Linked DNA regions of Homo sapiens: all the other regions are linked to region 3. Evidence: promoter capture Hi-C in human tissues and cell types (Jung and others, 2019). All regions are on one chromosome and are shown on one strand. The core of a region is centred on a gene start or on the middle of the fragment in contact, and the rest is flanking DNA. Distances in the headings are between cores, read along the strand shown.

Region 1 (2,700 bases), core at 87-2,586, 270 kb before region 3:
AGAAAGTCTAGCACAGTCCACCCCATTCAAAAATAAGCATCTGTAGACATTTTCAACTTCCAAATAAAAGCAGCAACAATACTATTTTCCACCTAATGTGATGCAACTATTCATTTTACAACCCAAAGACCTTTAATCTTCTCTATGGAAGAGATATTTGAAAATGCTAGTCCGTCTCCCAGATGACTAACAACCCCTTTTGCTCTTTCATGCTATAAATACCAAGGATCAACCAATATAAACCTATATTACATAGAGGGGTATGAAGGCACTGAGACAAAAAGCAGAGGACTCAGTTAATACAGAAACTATATTCACATCAGCTGGGCATGGTGGCACATGTCTGTAGAGCTACTCAGAGGGCTGAGGTGGTAGGATTGCATGAACCTGGAAAGTGAAGGTTACAGTGAGCCAAGATCGCACCACTGCACTCCAGTCTACATGACAGAGCGAGACCTTGTCTGAAAAAAAATATATATATATACACATCAAAGTGAGGAAGATTATATAAATATCTAACTTAGTCCTTGTTTCAGCAGCTGGCCTTGAGGCTAAAGCTGGCATTTAAAAATTTCCTCTTTCAAGTTAGACACAGTGGCACATGCCTGTAATCCCAGCTACTCAGGTGGCTGAGGTGGGAGGCTCATTTGAGTTCCGGAGTTCAAGACCAGCCTGGGGAACGTAACAGAACTCCACCTGAAAAAAAATTTCTTCCACTATCCATTCCATAATCCCTATGCTCTCAGCAAACACCTCAACTGGCTGTGATTTTTTAACCTGGTGAAGTTACTCACGTCTTCATGAAGTATACATTCCCTCAGGAGTCCTTCCTGTAATGGATTATTATCATTTTCCCATGTTTTACAATGGGACGTGGGAGTTCTAAGAGGCATCCCACAGAATGCCTTGTGTGAGTGGTATAGTTATACTCTCTTCTGCCGATTGTGTAGTAACTACCCAATTCCCCCCTTGATAATCAGGACAATTTGCCACTTTTTACTATCAGGCTTTACACGATTTCTTCTACCTTAGACTATATAACCATTCAGTTACATCCAGGTTAATGGCTTCCACTTCCAAAGTCCGTATCTCTGGAGTCAACAGCAAGAACACTTCCTGCCAAGGACTACTCCAGATTTTTGCATGCTTAATCCAAAGCAAAAATAAGACCTTTTGAATTAGGGATGTTTCTATCATTAATCTTCATCACACATAATTTTTTTTTTGCAATTCAGATTCCTGGTGAAAGTTCTTCAGAGCTTCAAATTCCTTTTGGTGTAACAATATATTATTTGCACCAATTTTACCTGTACGGCACCCACTTTTCATTCTTATAAAACTTATCACTTGGTAAAAAAAATTCTCACTTTTCCTGAATGTCCTTTTGGTTCCTTGTAATATCCTCCATCTAGGCCATTCAACAGGGTGAGCTTCATACTGATGGGGAGTTCAAGAAGGGAGTTATCAAAAGATAAAGTAAGTGTACTCGCATTTTCTCCTTGAGAGGTTGGGTAAGTCAACAATAGACTAGACCTATGGAATATGAGAAACAGCAGGCTGTCCCTATAAGACAGGAGACTGCTGAGAGCTATGCTGAGTCCAAGGAAGAGAAGGCAGTTGTAAATTGTACTCAGAGTTAATTTGCCCTGACAGAAAATGGAGATAGAGAAAAATAAGACACAATACTCTGAAATGTGCATCTCCATGTCATTCCATGAATGGTATGGTCTAAGTTTGATTGTTTTATCAGTAGAGATTATCTTCGAACTCATCTGAGTGAGCAAGTCACCACTCTTGCCCAATAGCTTCTTCTCTCTGTCAATCTGAACCCCACCCATAATCTCGTCTTGAATAGCACCTCCCTCTGGCTGACTCCCCTTGACTTAGCTCCTGGCTCTTGACCCAGAAAGTGACTCATTCAGGCTATCACTTATCGGGGGAAGCAGCCCCCGATAATTCAACGTAGGTTCTTTTCTGTTTTCCCTAAGTGTCGGCCAGTCTGAGAAATAAAGCGAAAGAGTACAAAAGAAAGAAATGGTAAAGCTTGGTGTCTGGGGAAGACATCACAGGTCGGCAGGTTCCATGATGCCCCCTGAGCCATAAAACCAGCAAGTTTTTATTAGCAATTTTCAAAGGGGAGGGAGTGTACAAATAGGGTTTTATTAGCAATTTTCAAAGGGGAAGGAGTGTACGAATAGGGTGTGGGTCACAGAGATCACATGCTTCAAGGGCGACAAAAGATCACAAGGGCAGAAGGTCAGGGCGAGATCACAAGGTCAGGGTGAAACTAAAATCACTAATGAAGTTTCATGTCCCGCCGTGCACACATTGTCATTGATAAACATCTTAACAGGGTTCAAGAGCAGAGAACTGGTCTGACTAGAATTCGCCAGGCTGGAATTTCCTAATCCTAGCAAGCCTGGGGGTGCTGCAGGAGGCCAGAGCATGTTTCATCCCTTATCTGCAACTGCATAAGGCAGACACCCCCAGAGTGGCCATTTTAGAGGCCCCCCTGGGAAGGCATTATTTTCCCAGGGCTGTTAATTATTAATATTCCTTACTGGGAAAAGAATTCAGCAATATTTCTCTTACCTGTTTTCCGTAATAAGAGAAATATGGCTCTGTCCTGCCCAGCCCACAGGCAGCCAGACTTTAAGGTTATCTCCCTTGTTCCCTGAAAATCACTGTTATCCTGTTCTT
Region 2 (2,700 bases), core at 167-2,666, 350 kb before region 3:
TTGCAACTTTGCTGAATTTTTTGTTAATTCTTTTTTTTTCTGAGACAGACCCTCACTCTGTCGCCCAGGCTGGAGTGCAGTGGTGCAATCTCGGCTCACTGCAACCTCTGTCTCCCAGGTTCAAGCGATCCTCCTGCCTTCATCTCCTGAGTAGCTTTGATTACAGGTGCGTACCACCACACCCCGCTAATTTTTTGTATATAGTAGAGACGGGGTTTTGCCATGTTGGCCAGACTGGTCTTGAACTCCTGACCTCAGGTGATTCACTCACCTCGACCTCTCAAAGTGCTGGGATTACAGGCGTGAGCCACTGCGCCCGGCCTTGTTTGTTAATTCTAACAGGTGTTTTATTTGGGGTGTGTGTGTGTGGAAGGTTTAGTGTTTTCTATAAATAAGATTATGTTTCTGTGAATAGAGATGCTTTTACCTCTTCCTTTCCAATTTGGATGCTTTTAATTGTTTTAACCACCAAAACAATTCTCTATTATTTTTTTGGTCATGAAGTCCTTGTAATGATAGTAGGGCTGGGTACCATATTGGTGTCACACTCTGCCAGTCATCCAAAGAATATGCCAGACTTTTTTTTGTTTCAACTCCTGTGTGTACTAGTACGTCACTGGGCCCATCAGGTGGCTCACCAAGAGAATTTCAGTAATGGATTTCGGCTCTCTGTGCATAATAGATGACAGTCCTTACGAAGGATTCCGTTTGTCTTATAGCTTAGATTTGAACCTGCTGCAGATGTCACATTTACATTCTTGGATGGGTTTTTATCATCAGTTTCACCTCCTCCTCCTCTTCTTCCTCCTCCTTTTCTCTCTGGATGCTTTTAATTCTTTTCTTTTCTTTTTTTTTTTCTAAAGGTTCTGGCTAGCACCTCCAGTACAATGTTAAATAGCAGTGGTAGAAGCAGGTCTCTTTGTCTTGTTCCTGATCTTGGAGGAAGAGCCTTCAGTCTTTCACCCTGGAGCTCACGGCCTAGAGAAGAAGGCACAGAAATGAGCAAATTATGCAAATTAATGTATCATTTCAATTAGTGATATGTGCAACAGCAAGTAGCATAAGACATATTAATGTGTAAAATTTTGTCTCGGAAGGAGGAGAAACTTTCTCAAAGAATCTGCGTCCTGAGTAATTGGTAGGAGTAGGAAATCTATTAAGGTGATAGATACTCTAGCAGGGATTGCCCTAATTTCTTTTTGGCATTGGCCCCACTTAACAACGGAATAGGAAAACCTCCAGGAAGGAAGGAAGCTAAAGAAACCGGACTGGTTAACCAAGGAACCAGATCTGTTGCCTAAAAGTGAATCATCAAGTTTGTGGCTATTCCTGTAGGGCATGGTAAATGCCCACAACACATGGCCCTGAAGTTTGTTCTTCTTTCTGACTTTGATGGAGTTCAATTTATTGGTGTTTACTATTTTGCCTGGACTTTTGGTGTCACATCCAAGAAATCTGCCAAGTCCAATGTCAGGAAGCTTTCTCCCTATGTATTCTTCTAAGAGCTTTATAGTTTTAACTTTTGCATTTAGGCCTTGGATCTCATTAGTTTTTTGAACTAATTCTTGTGTATGGTTAGAGATAAGGGTCCAACTTCATTTTTTTTTTTTTTTTTTTGAGATGGAGTCTCGCTCTGTTGCCCAGGTTGGAGTGCAGTGGCGCGATCTCGGCTCACTGCAAGCTCCGCCTTCCAGGTTCACACCATTCTCCTGCCTCAGCCTCCCAAGTAGCTGGGACTACATGTGGCCACCACCATGCCCAGCTAATTTTTTGTATTTTTTTTAGTAAAGACAGGGTTTCGCTGTGTTAGCCAGGATGGTCTCGATCTCCTGACCTTGTGATCCGCCTGCCTTGGCCTCCCAAAGTGTTGGGATTACAGGCGTGAGCCACCGCGCCTGGCCTGTTCTTTATTTTTCAAAATTATTTTGTCTATTCAGGGTCCCTTAAGAGTCCATGCGAATTTTAGGATTTTTTCTGCTTCTGCAAAATTGTCATTGAGATTTTGATAGAGATTGCTTTGAAGCTGTAGATCACTTTGGGTAGTATGGACATTGTTACAATATTAAATCTTCCAACCCATGAACACAGACTGTCTTTCCATTTATTTGTGTCTTCATTACTTTTTTTCAACAATGTTTTGTAGTTTGCACTATACAAGTCATTTGCTCTCTTGGTTAAGTTTATTCTGAATTATTTTATTCTTTTTTTATTTTTATTTTTTGAGACAGAGTCTTGCTCTGTGGCCCAGGCTGGAGTGCAGTGGCATGATCTTGGCACACTGTAACCTCCCCCTCCTGGGTTCAAGCAATTCTCTTGCCTCAGCCTCTGGAGTAGCTAGGATTACAGGCGAGCGTCACCATGCCCGGCTAATTTTCATATTTTTAGTAGAGACGGGGTTTCACCATGTTGACCAGGCTGGTCTTGAACTCCTGACCTCAAGTGATCCACCTGCCTCAGCCTGCCAAAGTGCTGGGATTACAGGCGTGAGCCACCATGCCTGGCCTGAAGCACTTTATTCTTTTTGATGGTATTATAAATGAGGTAGTTTTCTTAATTTCCTTTTTGGCTTGTTCATTGTTAGTGTATAGAAATGCAAGAAATTTTTTTTTTTTTTAAGTTGAAGTCTCGCTCAATATCCCAGGCCGGAGTGCAGTGGCACCGTCTCAGCTCACTGCAGCCTCTGCCTTCCAGGTTCAAGTG
Region 3 (2,700 bases), core at 5-2,504:
TTTTTTTTGAGACGGAGTCTCACTCTGTCGTCCAGGTGGAGTGCAGTGGTGCAATCTCAGCTCACTGCAACCTCTGCCTCCCGGGGTTAAGCGATTCTCGTGCCTCAGCCTCCCGAGTAGCTGGGATTACAGGCATGCACCACCATGCCCAGCTAGTTTTTGTATTTTCAGTAGAGATGGGGTTTCACTGTGTTGGCCAGGCTTGTCTCGAACCCCTGACCTCAGGTAATCCGCCCGCCTTGGCTTCCCAAAGTGCTGGGATTACAGGCGTGAGCTCCACCGCGCCCGGCCCAGGCTACGGATTTTAGCTTTTATGTTCATTGTACCAGGAACTGTGTAAGTGCTCATGTATATTTATTGAGTCGATGAATGAAGCACCAATTGTCGAATGACCTTGAGGACTCCTGCAGGATGCTAACGAACACACTTCTCAGCCGGACTGAGCTCCATCATCCTGCCATGCGGCTCACCCCACCTGCGTTCTGGCTTCATTCCTGTCTCCATGCACTTGCTTAAAGTCGTGCCGGCGTCAGGATCTCCCTTCCTACCAGCCAGGAAGCTCTTCCCTCTTATTTTCCCCGCTCCTCGAGGTAAAGGTGCGCACAGAGGGGCCCCCAAGGCGTGACTGGAAGGCTTGTGGGTCGCTATGGTTACTGCATCCGCCCGGGGCGGGACATCCCCAGGACGCCCAGCCTCTAGGGGTGCGAGGTGGGAAGCTCTGGAGCGGCCCAGCGCAGGGGCGGGCAAGCCAGGAGGCAAAGCGGTTTCCTCACGCCTCCACCCCACCCACACAGTTGTCAAGGAGACAAAGCGCTTCCCTTCAGCGCTGTCTCCCTCCCCTTTGGTTAGAGGGCAGGGTGGGCTGGAAGACTGTCCGAAAGGTTGGGTACTGGCGCGCTCCCAGCATCTCTCCCATCCAAGCTCGCAACGCCTGCGCCGAGACCCGGTACCGGGTACAACCCGAGGCACGCGCATGCGCGCGATGGAGTTTTTGCGCGTGCGCCGTTGTGGCCCCAGGAAGCTGGGGTACCCGCGCGGCGCTAACGTTGCGGCTGCGCAGTTGCGGCCTGCTGGTGGGGCTCGGCGGAGCGCAGTTCTGCGCCTGCGCTGTGCTGGGGTAGGTGGGAATGAAACCCTGGCGGTAAGGGCATTGGGGCCGACTGGCCCTGGGCGCGCCTGCGCCTTGGCATGCGGGGCGGCCGGAGGCGGGGCCGAAAGAGGGGAGGGAGGGAGGCGGGGGGTGGGAACAGGCCGCAGAAGCCCGAGCCCTGACCCACCGGCGGCTGCGGCGGAGCCGGTGAGTGACCCGTGGCCCGACTCGGTCCCCACCCTCCGCGACCTTCGCTCTCCCTGCCGTCCCCCGTAGCCTCCGTTGTCTCCTTGTGATACGGGACCCCCGTTATTTCCAGAGCTCCCCTTAATTTCTGGCAATCCCCAGAGCCCCCACAATCCTCGCAGACCCTGATCCCTAATATTTGATCGTTCCAGCTCTTCCAGTGATACAGGAGCTCCCACCTCACCATTATTCCTGGACATCCCTCTAAGGGCCCTTCTCATATCGGTCTTACAGACGCCCCGTTGCCCCCTAGAGCCCCTAGAGCGCCTCCTCTGCTCCAGATTCCCCCCTTCTTGCTGCATCCCCCCTTCCGCATCTCCTTATCTTCATGCATCTAAGACCCCCCCGAGGCACCCCCATCCTCCCTCCATTTCCTATCCTCCCGTGCCCCCATTCTCTAACTCCTGCAGACACCTCCTCTCCTCGCACTTTTCCTCCTTTCCTTCCATCCCTCCAGACCCTCCCCCAATTTCTATCAACTCTTCAGCGTGGCACTTCGCGCCGCGCGAAGTCCGAGCCAAGCGCTCAGCCGGTGTCAGCTACTCTTAGGCGCTTCCGACTTACCCGGGTGCCCGTCGCCCCCGCCCGCCCCCCGCCCCCACTCCTGCCCCCGGGGACTAAGGAGCTCTCGGCCCGGCGGTCTGGGAGAGGCGGCGGCGGGGGGACCCCGAACCCCAGCCAGCCCCGTGCGCCCTTTGCCCGCAGCGCCGGCGCCCCCCATGCGCCAGACGGCAGGACGGCGGCGTCGGGGGGCGCCATGGCCTCGGCGGCGGCGGGCGAAGCGGAGGAAACCACCCGGTTGCGCAAGCCGCGCTTCTCATTCGAAGAGAACCAGATCCTGATCCGCGAGGTGCGCGCCCACTACCCGCAGCTCTACGGCGCGCAGAGCCGTCGGGTGAGCGTGGCAGAGCGGCGGCGCGTGTGGGACGGCATCGCCGCCAAGATCAACGGTATCACCAGCTGGAAGCGCACGGGCCAGGAGGTGCAGAAGCGCTGGAACGACTTCAAGCGCCGCACCAAGGAGAAGCTCGCTCGCGTGCCGCACTCCACGCAGGGCGCCGGGCCCGCCGCGGAGGACGCTTTCTCCGCGGAAGAGGAGACCATTTTTGCCATCCTGGGGCCAGGTGTGGCGGCGCCGGGGGCAGGTGCTGGGGCGGAGGAGCCCCCTGCGGCCCCCTCTTCACAGCCGCCGCCCCCAAGCGCCTGCCCTCAGCGCTACGTGTTGTCGGAAGACCGCCGGGAGGACCGACGTGCAGGTGAGTGTCTTCAGAGTAGGCTGTGTGCCTGCGCTGTTGCAAGCCTTTTACATGTCTCATCAAAGCCTTGCTGCAGCCCTGTGAGGTGGATGCTGTCCTTCGCCCCAT

Evidence for each region. Contacts are between HindIII fragments. The study calls those that stand out against the background at their distance.
Region 1: a contact is called between a fragment that was not itself captured here and the fragment with the promoter of MYPOP in region 3, in 2 of the 25 tissues and cell types used here (lymphoblastoid cells and mesendoderm cells).
Region 2: a fragment that was not itself captured here is called in contact with the fragment with the promoter of MYPOP in region 3 in 1 of the 25 tissues and cell types used here (lymphoblastoid cells).

The regions. Positions count from the first base shown.
Region 1 is chr19:46,170,500-46,173,199 of GRCh38, reverse strand. All of the region lies in intron 4 of LOC105372424 (a long non-coding RNA gene), which reads left to right. It also overlaps a transcript of IGFL2 not described here. Among named protein-coding and RNA genes, the nearest start is that of IGFL2, 24 kb to the right of the region's middle. RefSeq lists an enhancer at 2,018-2,568. The HindIII fragment of the contact is 4,773 bases long and covers 1-2,700 here.
Region 2 is chr19:46,253,567-46,256,266 of GRCh38, reverse strand. No RefSeq gene overlaps it. Among named protein-coding and RNA genes, the nearest start is that of IGFL1, 25 kb to the right of the region's middle. The HindIII fragment of the contact is 4,943 bases long and covers 1-2,700 here.
Region 3 is chr19:45,901,167-45,903,866 of GRCh38, reverse strand. It overlaps MYPOP (Myb related transcription factor, partner of profilin), which reads left to right and starts at 1,254. Exons shown (of 3, transcript NM_001012643.4): 1 at 1,254-1,297; 2 at 2,042-2,592. The coding sequence starts at 2,094. RefSeq lists silencers at 562-641, 1,202-1,251 and enhancers at 902-1,011, 1,442-1,491. The HindIII fragment of the contact is 9,891 bases long and covers 1-2,700 here.